Regions from separate parts of the Homo sapiens genome. Here all the other regions are linked to region 1. Evidence: promoter capture Hi-C in 16 types of primary human blood cells and fetal thymus (Javierre and others, 2016). All regions are on one chromosome and are shown on one strand. The core of a region is centred on a gene start or on the middle of the fragment in contact, and the rest is flanking DNA. Distances in the headings are between cores, read along the strand shown.

Evidence for each region. Contacts are between HindIII fragments. The CHiCAGO score rates a contact against its expected background, and 5 or more counts as called.
Region 2: a contact is called between the fragment with the promoter of RBM23 here and the fragment with the promoter of CDH24 in region 1, in 14 of 17 cell types (neutrophils, erythroblasts, total CD8 T cells and 11 more). The highest score is 11.1, in neutrophils.
Region 3: a contact is called between a fragment that was not itself captured here and the fragment with the promoter of CDH24 in region 1, in 1 of 17 cell types (M0 macrophages). The highest score is 5.2, in M0 macrophages.
Region 4: a contact is called between a fragment that was not itself captured here and the fragment with the promoter of CDH24 in region 1, in 1 of 17 cell types (neutrophils). The highest score is 5.7, in neutrophils.

The regions. Positions count from the first base shown.
Region 1 is chr14:23,056,110-23,058,875 of GRCh38, reverse strand. CDH24 (cadherin 24) reads left to right here and starts at 1,356. Exons shown (of 13, transcript NM_144985.4): 1 at 1,356-1,473. It overlaps ACIN1 (apoptotic chromatin condensation inducer 1), which reads left to right. Exons shown (of 19, transcript NM_001386863.1): 19 at 1-312. It overlaps LOC105370705 (collagen alpha-2(I) chain-like), which reads right to left and starts at 1,216. Exons shown (of 2, transcript NR_169511.1): 1 at 834-1,216; 2 at 227-591. RefSeq lists silencers at 1,127-1,276, 1,357-1,476. The HindIII fragment of the contact is 16,339 bases long and covers 1-2,766 here.
Region 2 is chr14:22,917,615-22,920,598 of GRCh38, reverse strand. RBM23 (RNA binding motif protein 23) reads left to right here and starts at 1,450. Exons shown (of 14, transcript NM_001077351.2): 1 at 1,450-1,600. PRMT5-AS1 (PRMT5 antisense RNA 1) reads right to left here and starts at 1,143. Exons shown (of 2, transcript NR_120600.1): 1 at 1-1,143. PRMT5 (protein arginine methyltransferase 5) reads left to right here. Exons shown (of 17, transcript NM_006109.5): 17 at 1-70. RefSeq lists a silencer at 1,076-1,375 and enhancers at 1,636-1,705, 1,796-1,905, 1,976-2,145, 2,634-2,984. The HindIII fragment of the contact is 7,114 bases long and covers 1,022-2,984 here.
Region 3 is chr14:23,186,300-23,189,068 of GRCh38, reverse strand. It overlaps a transcript of RNF212B not described here. Among named protein-coding and RNA genes, the nearest start is that of SLC7A8, 4.0 kb to the right of the region's middle. The HindIII fragment of the contact is 4,312 bases long and covers 1-2,769 here.
Region 4 is chr14:22,890,233-22,893,085 of GRCh38, reverse strand. No RefSeq gene overlaps it. Among named protein-coding and RNA genes, the nearest start is that of REM2, 8.4 kb to the right of the region's middle. The HindIII fragment of the contact is 1,862 bases long and covers 557-2,418 here.

The DNA of each region.
Region 1 (2,766 bases), core at 107-2,606:
GGGGAACAGCCAGGTGCCCCAGTCCTCTGATTTTTCCTCCATCCTGCTTACCACCTCCCTGGGTACTTACAGCCTTCTCTTGGGAACAGCCGGGGCCAGGACTGGGTCACCTATGAGCTGAATCAGCATCTCCTCCTGAGTCCCAGGGCCCCTGCAGTTCCCAGTCTCTTCTGTCCTGCAGCCCTTGCCTCTTTCCCACAGGTTCCACTTTATATCCACCTTTTCCTTTTGTTCAATTTTTATTTTTATTTTTTTTATTATTAAATGATGTGGTCTATGGAAAAAAAAATAAAAATCTGACTTAGTTTTAAACTGTGTGAGTGGCTTTCTTTGGGCAGGTTAAGAAGCCACTGTGGATATCTGAGCGTGGACATCTGAGGATATCTGGAGTAGGAGTTGCTCTCATTCCATGTGTTCCTTTAGGCTGACTGCTTCCTGCTTATTGAACTTCCCACGTCTTTTATCCCCTGCCTTGGCCCTGACCAACCCAAAGCTGTGGACCTTCCTCATTCGGGAAGGCATGGAGCAACCTGTGTCCGTGGCGGCACCCCAGCAGGGCTAGGAGGGTGGGTCCTCTTCTGGTTCCTGGTCCTGTGCACGGTTAAATTAGGGGTTTGGTCACCTGCCTGCCACCTTGGTGCCTCCCACAACTACCACCAGGGGGCGGCAGCTCCTCGCTCTGTTGGCCCCTGTAACCGAGCTTCCCAAGAAGGGTTCCACTGCCCGCCTCCGACCTCCCGCCGATGTCGTGCCTCTGTTCCCGACCCGCTCCCTGGGCCCGGGCCTCGGACTCTCTGGACCCTTCTGCCGTCCTTAAGTGTCCCCCAGCTGACCTGCTACCGTGCTTTGCATGGGCTCTCAAAACGCCGCCGCCTTGCAGCTGGGATTCCATCCACACCAGTCCCAAAAGCCAGCCGGGAACCGGGAGCCCGGAGCCGGGTCTCTCCGCAGTGGGCTCCGAATTCCCCACCTCACCGCGCGCTCGCCCGTTTTCCGCTGCGGGCGGGGACTGGCAGCTTCGCGCTCCCGGGTGCACCCGCCCCGCCAGCTCTTCGGAAATGGCCTGGCGCCGTGGCCTGGACGTCCTCCCGCCCGAGTGCCCTGCCGGGCGCTGCGGGCCCGGTCCGGGAGGGGCGCCGCATCTGTATGCGCCCCGCAGCCCAGGAGCGCCGAGGGGGCGGACGCGCGGCGCCGCCTCCGCCCCCGCCCCCGCCGCGCGGGCCCGGCTGGCCGGGGAGGGTCGGAGGCTGGGCTCTCCTCTCCCGCGCGGCGCGGAGCCGCCTCGCTCCTCCGCAGGCGGAGTCTTCTTCCCCCGCCCCCTCCGTCTCGCTCCCTTGTTCTCGCCGGGGCCGCTCAGACCTGCAGCGGAGCCGCGGCGCCCGCTCCAATCGGCTCGGGGCTGTGCCCCCGGGACCCGGCGACGGGGGCGGGCGGGGGCGCTTCCCGCCGGCCTGGGCCCCTCGGCAGTGCCAGGTAAGGGCGCCTGCCCCGGAGCAGGGGTCGGGAATCCGCGGAGGGGTAGGAGGGGGCCCGCAGCCTGCGGGGGTCTTCGGAGGGGTGCGCTCCGTGGCTGGGAGCCCGCTGCCGGCTCCCTTCTCCCGCGCTCTGCCTCTTTCCCTTCTCCCCTCGCACCTCTCTCCCTCTTTCTTCTCTCGATTTCTCTTCACCCTTCCTTCTCTGCCTGTTTGCCTTCCTTATCCCTTCCCTCTGTCTCCCCAACCCTTCCCTCTCCCTCTTGTCCTTTTTCCATCTCCTCTCCCTCTTTGCCTTTTTCTTTCTCTACCTTTCTCCCCTTTCCTGCCTTTCTCTTTTCTCTTTCTTGCTCTCCTTTCCCTCCCTCTCCTCTCCCCTTCCTGCTATCCTGTTTCCCACTCCTCTATCCCCTTCCTTCTCGCCTCCTCATCCCGCCTTCTCTCTGGTCCCCAGCCTTCCTCCGGTTTCCCCCTTCCCTCGGGAGCAAAGGGACTGTCAGGTGTGTGTCTGCTCTGAGGGAGGAGGGGCAGAAGCCACAGCTACCTGAGGGGTCCTCCCCCCCGCCCCTAGGAGAAAGGAGAGCAGTGGGAAGGGTCTCCTCTCTAGCTCCCTTCCCGTGGCCCCTCCCTGCCTCCACCCCTCCTGTCTGCTCCTTCTCCCAGAATTAAGTTCCCGAGGCCTGGCTTGACACCCCCGAAGCTGAGGTCTGCCCCTGCCTGCCCGGAACTGCCCCCGGTGACCCGTTTCCAAGCCTGGCCCCTAGGACTCCTCTCTGCCTTCAGACACCCAGGCTGCTGCCCTGGTCTCTCTCATTCTGTCTCTTGCCACTGTTCTGTTTCTGTCTCTCATCCAGTCATTTCTCTGCCGGACAGTCCCTGAGTCAGTCTAGCCGTCAGTCATTATCTGTCTCTAGCCTCTGGGTGGACCTCTCTCCCCGGTCACCTCCCCCTGTCCCCCACCCTGTATCCTCTTCCTTCAGCTCTGGCTCCCAACTCCTGTCTCACGAGCCCAGTCCCCCTTCAAGGACTGCACTGGCAGCGTGGGCTGGAGACAGGGCCTGGAGAGTGGGGCTCCCCCTTGTGGGGAGGGACTTTCACAGACTCTCAGCCCTGCCTGAGGCTGCACTCCTTGTCATCTCATGCTGACCCTAGACACCTTAAGGCCACACCTCCATGAATCCCAACTCCGTAATTTTAAGCCCTTTCTCTGGTAGCCCCGCCTCCTCCAATACCTGGCTACGTGCCCAACCTGGGAGGACAGAGACCAGATTTGGGATTCCAAGCCCTCCCAGCA
Region 2 (2,984 bases), core at 201-2,700, 140 kb after region 1:
CTTTTTCTGTTCTTGTTTTGATGGTTTTGTGTAAGAGGAAATACAAATAAAGTTATAGCCCTTTACTGCACGACCATGCTGCCCCCTGCCACTATTTTCCCACACCTCACTTAGACCCAGGCATGTTCAGATCTGTCCTCTTAGCCTATCCAAGACCCAAAGGGGCCTAGTTGTATTCCCTACTTAGGAAGCTGAGCAATGACTATTGTAGTCCTGGATATAGGCCTTTCTGACCAGCTACAGTGAGCTCTTGTCCATTAGAACCTACAGTTAGGCTTTTCTCTGGGGAGGAGGCATAGAGTTTGCCACCTTGGAAAAAGATGGAATAGTGAGTGAAGCCAGTTTCTCTTCTGTATTCTTGAGCTACTGCACGGGCAACTGGTTACCTCTCCTTTGTTACCTCTTGGGAAGACTGGAATCCATCCAGGAATCTCCAGCAAGAAGCTACCTGTTTTTTTTGAATAAAACCACAGGGTTACAGTTTGAAGTCCTAAGAGATCATCTAGTCCAATTTTCCATTTTACAGAGGGGGAGTTTGAAATGGGTACAATGATGTGATATTAGTATCCAAGTCAGAATTGGAAGTCAGGTCCTCCGACTCTGGCTCTCCCCATGTTATAACCAGCTACATTTTTGGTAGCTACAGTAGACCACAGAAGTGTCTAGGGGCTCCTGGAGGCCCCTGGAAAGTGAGGGTGGACATCAGTTCCTTCTTTCCGGTTAGAGGACTCAGTACTGCTACATCCAAGGAGTCACCTGAGAAACTTTCAAATTTACCCTTGCAGTGGGAAATGTGGGGGTACTGATTTGAACGGAAGTTATGACCTGTGGGAGCAGGCCATGACGATAGGGCAGAGTGTGGGCCAAGACAAGTCTGTGGCAAGATCTGCTTTTCCCTGGTCCCAAGCACCGAGGTCAGGAGAGGTGGTCGGGAAGGTTGTTTAGGTAGCCGGCTCAGAACGGGGATTTCGAGTTCAGCATCCCCGGACGTTAAACAAACGCCGCTGTTCTCTACAAAGCTTAACCTTAACGACCGACGTGACTCCTTCAGCAAATCCGAGTAGGGACGGCCAAGGATGTAAATTGTGCCTCCTCGTTGGCTCCGCCCATCGCACTGGTCTAGTCTACGCGAGCACCAGGAGTGGGGTTGGTGGCTTCTTCACTCCCGTTTTCAGTCCCGTTTTCCCCGCCCTCCGCAAGTCATTTAACCAATGAGAGAGTGATGGGCGGCTACCAAAGGACGCTTCCATTTTCTGGAGTCTCTGAGGTTAGCCAATCAATGGGAACTCGGTGGTTGCTAAGACGCATTTGAGTTTGCTCCACCCATACTTAGGACTTTAGCCAATGAGAACCTGTACTTTGGACGGTTGCCGCGAAACCAGTGAGGTTATTTCCAAAGCCGGGGAGTCTTGGCGCATGCGCAGATTGGGGAAGGTTCTGGAAGACGGCAGAGCTGCCGCCATTTTGCGGGAAGAGGAGGCTCTGTACCTGCAGTGCTGCTTTTCTTGCCTAGACTCTAGGAACTATCCGAGCTCCACTCCCCACAACATACTCAAAGGAACGGAGAGAACCGGGACCCCCCTGCGGGGACCCGGAACTGGTGAGAAACCCCAAAACCCGGTCCCCACCAGACGTCACCAATGCGTGACGTTGCTGCACGGCGCCTCCCCCCTGACGTCACGGGCAGAAAATGGCGTCACGAAGAGATTCAGGCGAACTTTTAACATTAAAAAAACCTTTGTTTGTTTTGACCTGGAAGTGTTAGCTACTTAAATGTAGCCCACTGCCACGATTTTAGAGTTGGGCACCCTCGTGGCTGTATCTTGCACCGATAAAGATGCGGTTTCTAGAATCCTGTGATTTTTCTTTCCGGGTCTCTGCAGCCGTGACACTTAGGGTCGCCCACACTGGAGAGGGAGCATCGACCCTCCGCGGCCTGAGAGGACACGCATCATCAGTTTCAGCCACTCGCACCACCATTCAGAGAGAGAGAAGGGAATTGAGCTTTCTTCCTCAATCTCTAGTCTGTCGAAGATTCATGTTCACTATGTTGACCTTTATGGGCTTTTCCCATTTAACTTTTTCAAGCACTCATTCCAGTAGGCGTATTATGATGCCACATATGAAGATTGAGCCCTGGGACACTGGCTCCCGCAGAGATTGTGCCAGTTGGTTGCCTATAGGACCTCTTTTTTTTTATTTTTTTAAGGCGGAGTGTCGCTTTGTCACCCAGGCTGGAGTGGAGTGGCGCGATCTCGGCTCACTGCATCCTGTCTCCCGGGTTCTAGCGATTCCCCTGCCTCAGCCTCCCGAGTAGCTGGGATTACAGGCGCCTGCCACAACGCCCGGCTAATTTTTGTATTTTTAATAGAGATGGGGTTTTGCCATGTTAGCCAGGCTGACCTCGAACTCCTGACCTCAGGTGATCCACCCGCCTCGGCCTCCCAAAGTGCTGGGATTACAGGCGTGAGCCACCGCGCCCGGCCTATAGGACCATTTTTTAAAGCTACACAACATGGGGAGGGTGGTCCTTCAAGTAGCTTTTATCGTTCTCATTGTTCCTCTTTTGTTAAGCTGCCTTCAGTTTGTAGGTGTTTGTGCCCAGCTAAGTGATCAGACCCTGGGGATGGCGCTACCATCACCCCTGGGGCTCCAGCTTTTCGTGAATTCTTCCCGAATTGGTCTGACAGTGGTTCTCTCTGCTCCTTTAGCAGTGGGGTCTATCTGTTGGCTTGTGCTATGACGAGGTCTAGGAACTGACGTGATTGTGGGTCTCTAATACTGTTTTTGGAGCAGGATGGAAGAAAACATACTCTATGTGGATGAGATTGAGTGGACCTTGACCCATAAGTTGGGACATGAAGAGAGCGTTTGAAAACTACCAACCTGGGCCGGGTGCAGTGGCTCACGCCTGTAATCCCAGCACTTTGGGTGGCCGAGGCGGGCGGATCACGAGGTCAGGAGATCGCGACCATCCTGGCTAA
Region 3 (2,769 bases), core at 46-2,545, 130 kb before region 1:
TGTATAAAATAATCTTCAAAGTCAAAACCTTGATTGTCTTTTTCTTCTCTGTGTTCCAGCCCCTGTACAGGCACCAACAGCTACATCTTGCTACAATTAGTTGGTATATCAAGGAGTCATTTGGTAATTATTTTATTTATTATGCATTAATGTACATCAACATTTATTTATACATTAATTCATTCAATCAATCATATTTATTGAGTGCCAGGCACCATTTTAGGTACTGGGGTTACAGCAGTGAGCAAAGCAGGTCTTTGCCCTCAGGGAACTTGTCATCTACATCTTTAAAAACCTGAGGCCCAGCACAGTGGTTCACACAGTGGCTCCCAGCACTTTGGGAAGCTGAGGCTGGAGGAACTCTTCAGGCTAGGACTTTGAGATCAGCCTGGGTAATGCAGTAAGACCTCATCTTTACTAAAAATTTTTTAAAAATTTGCCAGGCATAGTGGTGTGCACCTGTAGTCCCAACTACTTGAGAGGCTGAGGCAGGAGGATCACTTGAACCCAGAAGTTCAAGGTTGCAGTGAGCTGTGATCACACCACTGCACTCCAACCTGGGTGACAGAGTGAGAGTGAGACCCTATCTCTAAAAAAAAAAAAAAAAACCCTAATCTTTGTCAAACATAATGAAAACCAATTAAGAAGGGGAAGTTTCCATATTTAAGTATTCAAAGCTGGAGTCACTTAAATCCTGAGAAAGAAGACTGTTAAGGCCCCATGACAGATTGGACCCAGCAAAAGAATCAAGAAAATGCGGAGATCTGGCCTGCCACAGGCAGTGCCTCTTTATTTCTTTCCCACTAGTGCTGGGCTGGCTCCATGGAATCCCACCAAGTGCAGCAGACAGAGGAGTAATCTGTTGGAATTTTTGTCTCTGGTGTCAGAGCAAGGATTCATCATTATCTCCAGAAGAGCTGAATTAATTAACCATCATAACAAAGCAGGGTCAGCTGCATCCAAATTCTCAGGACTGCATAAACCCTAGAAGACACAACTTCCTTTGAACTTATGAATATGCCCAAAAGGCAAACAGAGCATACACTAAAAAGGGCTTAATCACTGACCGAGTCTCCTCATTTCATCTTCCTTTCTTTCTGACCTATTTTGGCCTTTTCTTTTTTTAATTTTTTCTTCTTTTCTCATTAATTTTCATCTGCTTTTCATTTTCTAATGAAGTAAAGGCATCTAAAACTACTGGCTCAGGAAGGCCCCATCTAATCGACCATAGGCAGTGATCCCTGGGACTCTGGGAAGAAAGTTGGCTTTAATTTAAAGCAGGGTTTCCTTCTGCTTTAAACTAAAGCACATAGATATGGGGCACATAGTTACGAGAAGAAGGATGGAGTGAGCGCATGGACTGTGAGTTGACTCCAGGGAGAGATTTGGGTCCTTTGTTGGTAACCTCAGACTTCCCAGCTCTGTTACAAAAAGCAAGAATAAAGTGCTGTCTATTGGATCTAGAAAAAAAAATCAGGAATGGAGTGCATGAGCTTTGTGCTCTATTCCTTTGCATTAGCAGACACGTCTAACTTGTCTCTGAAAGGGAATATTAACCCGGGTGTGGTGGCGCACATCTGTAGTCCCAGCTACTCGGGAGGCTGAGGCGGGAGGATCACTTGAGCCCAGGAGTTTGAGGCTGCTGTGAGCTGTGATTGTGCCACTACACTCCAGCCTGGGTGACAGAGTGAGACCTTGTCTCTAAAAAAGGGGGGAGTAGGGGAATATTAGAACATGACTGCGTGGGGGTTGTGTGTGTTTGTGTTTTAACTATCACAAGCAGCATGTCCCAAGCCATAACCTTTTCTGTCCAGTAGGTGTCAGCTACGCACAGCCTTTCTCTTTCTAAATCCATATTTGTAAGAAAACGGCCTTTCATCCATAATTTTCCCTAGTTAAAGGGATCAATTTCTTCTGATCTGAAGCACGCAAAACAGCTGAAACAGTGGCTCCGATATTGGAAACAGAATTGTACTACGTACTTGGGATATGGCCACACTGAGGACTGTGCGAAGGGGGTGACAAATGTTGGGGGGGCCCAGGTGAAGTCCTGTGGGTCTCACTGAGCAGATAAGTGTTAGGATCAAGGTGAGTCTCTAAAAGGCACAGTTAAGACACCAAAGCAAAAACACAGAGTTTCCCTCAGGTGAAAGAAATTGAGGCTTTGACCAGTAGCTATAGCATCCTGAAAAAGTGCTCAGTGTAAACTATCAATCTCCCATTTGCCCTCAAATAGACTGTCTTGTTTTTTACCTCAGGTAAAATATTTCTTTAAGCCTCAGGTTTCTAATTTTTAAAATCTTTAAGATAACTGCCTCGTCTGCCCAAGATACTACATGAGGAGGAAAAAAATTGAGATATTGTTCAGAAAACCATTTGTGGGCTATAAAGCACTATTTAAACGTAGAGAATAGAATAAAAATATAAAGGCAAATGCAGAATAGAGTAATCCCAGCACTTTGGGAGGCCGAGGCGGGTGGATCACAAGGTTAGGAGTTCAAGACGAGCCTAACCAACAGGGTGAAACCCCGTCTCTACTAAAAACACAAAAATTAGCCAGGCATGGTGGCAGGTGCCTGTAATCCCAGCTACTTAGGAGGCTGAGGCAGGAGAATCACTTGAACCTAGGAGCCAGAGGTTGCAGTGAGCCGAGAGCCGAGATCGCACCACTGCAGTCCGGCCAGAGCAGCAGAGCGAGACTCCTTCTCAAAAAAAAAAAAAATGCTCAAAATTTAATAAACATTAGTTTGTAATTTTTTACAGATTTTT
Region 4 (2,853 bases), core at 238-2,737, 170 kb after region 1:
AGCTCATCTGTAGGCAGAGGCCCAGAGTGGAAAAATTTCCAGATGCAGGACTCCCCCGTTCCTCTGACCCTCAGGGGAGAGCACACAAAGTCTATGCTCTGGGCCAATGAGGCGGTCTTGTGGGCAAAGGGGAGTGGGAGTAGCAGGGGCTGGGCAGGGGCTGGTAAGGGAACACGGACTCCAAGACAAAATTGCAGTGGTTAAGAGATGCATGAGGACAGAAAGGACCTTACCTGGCATGGCAGCTCAGGTCCCAGTGCCCTCTGCTGACCTCTCACCCCAGCCAAGATCAATGGCTCTACTTTGCCTTGAGAGAGAAAGAGAGAATGGCCTGGCTCTCAGAGAAGGCCTCACCTCTCCCAAGTCTGGCGGGAGCCTGGCTTCAGCTTCCGTCTGTTCTGAGCTATTCCCTGTAGGCGTCTGGAGGGAACACACAGATGGGTCGGGCTGATGGGACTGGCTGAGTTGGGGGAGGGAGGCTCATGGTGTGTGGCTCCCCTCGTGGGGGAGGTCTTGCCATCATGGTCTTCCATACACGAAAGACATGTTTTAAGCTTCTGCCACGTAAAAGGCACTGGGCCTTTCTTGTTCCTCATCCTCCTCTCTGGCCACATCTGACCATTGGTGATACTCTCCTAGAAACCCCTCCTCTGGCAGCAGTCACAACAGGCTCAATCCTAGTTCTCCCACTACCTCTTTGGCAGCTGCTTCTCCACCTTCTCCATCTATATATCCCCAGGATCTCCTTGTTCCCTCTTCTTTCTCTGGACCCCTAAGGCTTTGTTTTAAATTATTTTGTTTCTTTCTTTTTTTTTTTTTGAGACGGAGTCTCTCTCTGTCGCCAGGCTGGAGTGCAGTGGCATGATCTCAGCTCACTGCAACCTCTGCCACCCAGGTTCAAGCGATTCAGCCTCCCGAATAGCTGGGATTACAGGTGCCCACCCCTGCGCCTGATTAATTTTTGTAGTTTTTAGTAGAGATGGGGTTTCGCTATCTTGGCCAGGCTGGTCTTGAACTCCTGACCTCATGATCCACCGGCCTTGGCCTCCCAAAGTGCTGGGATTACAGGCGTGAACCACTGTGCCCGGCCTATTTCGTTTCATTTTTGAAGTGGTACTAAATGACACAGTTAAAAGTTCCAAAGGTAGGCCAGGCGCGGTGGCTCACGCCTGTAATCCCAGCACTTTGGGAGGCTGAGGTGGGTGGATCATGAGGTCAGGAGTTCAAGACTAGCCTGGCCAAGATGGTGAAACCCCCGTCTCTACTAAAAATACAAAAATTAGCTGGGCGTGGTGGTGGGCACCTGTAATCCCAGCTACTCGGGAGACTGAGGCAGGAGAATCGCTTGAACCCAGGAGGTGGAGTTTGCAGTGAGCTGAGATTGTGCCACACTGCACTCCAGCCTGGGCAACAGAGCAAGACTCTGTCTCAAAAAAAAAAAAAAAAATTTCCAAAGGTAGAAAAAGGGCATACAGGCTGGACGCGGTGGCTCAGGCCTGTAATCTCAGCACTTTGGGAGGCTGAGGCAGGCGGATCACCTGAGGTTGGGAGTTTGAGACCAGCCTGACCAACATGGAGAAACCCCATCTCTACCAAAAATACAAAAGTGGCCGGGTGTGGTGGCACATGCCTGTAATCCCAGCTACTCGGGAGGCTGAGGCAGGAGAATCGCTTGAACCCAGGAGGCGGAGGTTACAGTGAGATCGTGCCATTGCACTCCAGCCTGGGCAACAAGAGTGAAACTCCGTCTCAAAAAAGAAAAGAAAAGAAAAGAAAAAGGGCATACAATGAAAAGTCAGCTTCCCATCCTGGTCTTCTACTCACCCAGTTCCCCTTTCCAGAAGCAGCCAGTACCATCTTTTTTTTTTTTTTTTTTTTTTTTGACAGAATCTCACTCTGTTGCCCAGGCTGGAGTACAGTGGCACGATCTCGGCTCACTGCAACCTCCACCTCCTGGGTTCAAACAATTCTCCTGCCTCAGCCTCCCAAGTAGCTGGGATTACAGGCATGTGCCACCATGCCCAGCTAATTTTTGTATTTTTAGTAGAGATGGGGTTTCGTCATGTTGGCCAGGCTGGTCTCGAACTCCTGACCTCAGGTGATCTACCCGCCTCGGCCTCTCAAAGTGCTGGGATTACAGGCATGAGCCATCCTGTGCCTGGCCTGTAACAAACCCTTTTGTGAATCTGATGAAATTCATGAACCCTATTCTCAGACACAGGTATGACTACACAAATACATCAGATTGTATGTACCATTTCACAAGACGCAGACTCCATCAGTAGTCTGGGGTAAGGATCCCAGCCTGTACTGCACCTTCTCCCTTAGTATAATTGTGGATCCCCTTGCAAAATGAAAATACAGGGCTCCTTGTTCGAAGAATTTTAAGAACATAACAGCAGAACATTAAACTAAGCTTAGGGCCCTATGTGACTGCACAGGTCACCTTTTCTCCTTGCTCTTCTACTACTATCTTTATGGTAATTATTCTCAAATCTGTTTCTCTTGTCCCAACTTGTTCTGAATTTCAGATTCAGATTCAACTCTAGAGAGCTGCTGAAACTCTATATAGATGTTCTTCTAGCATCTCAAATTCAGTGTCTCCAAAATGGAGCTCCTTACTCTCACTACCTCCTCTGCCCCTTTACTCCAAGTTCTGCACCATCCTCTCACCACCTACAACTTTTTCCTCTCTTTATACTCATCCACTAAGTTGCCAAGTCCCATTGATTCTGATGCTCAAACCCATGCCTCCTTCCTTTCCCACTGCCACCCCCCTCAGGATGGCCTTTCATTATCCTCTGTATGTATCACTATTAACTGGTCCCTAAACTCAGCTCCTCAGTACTTGCC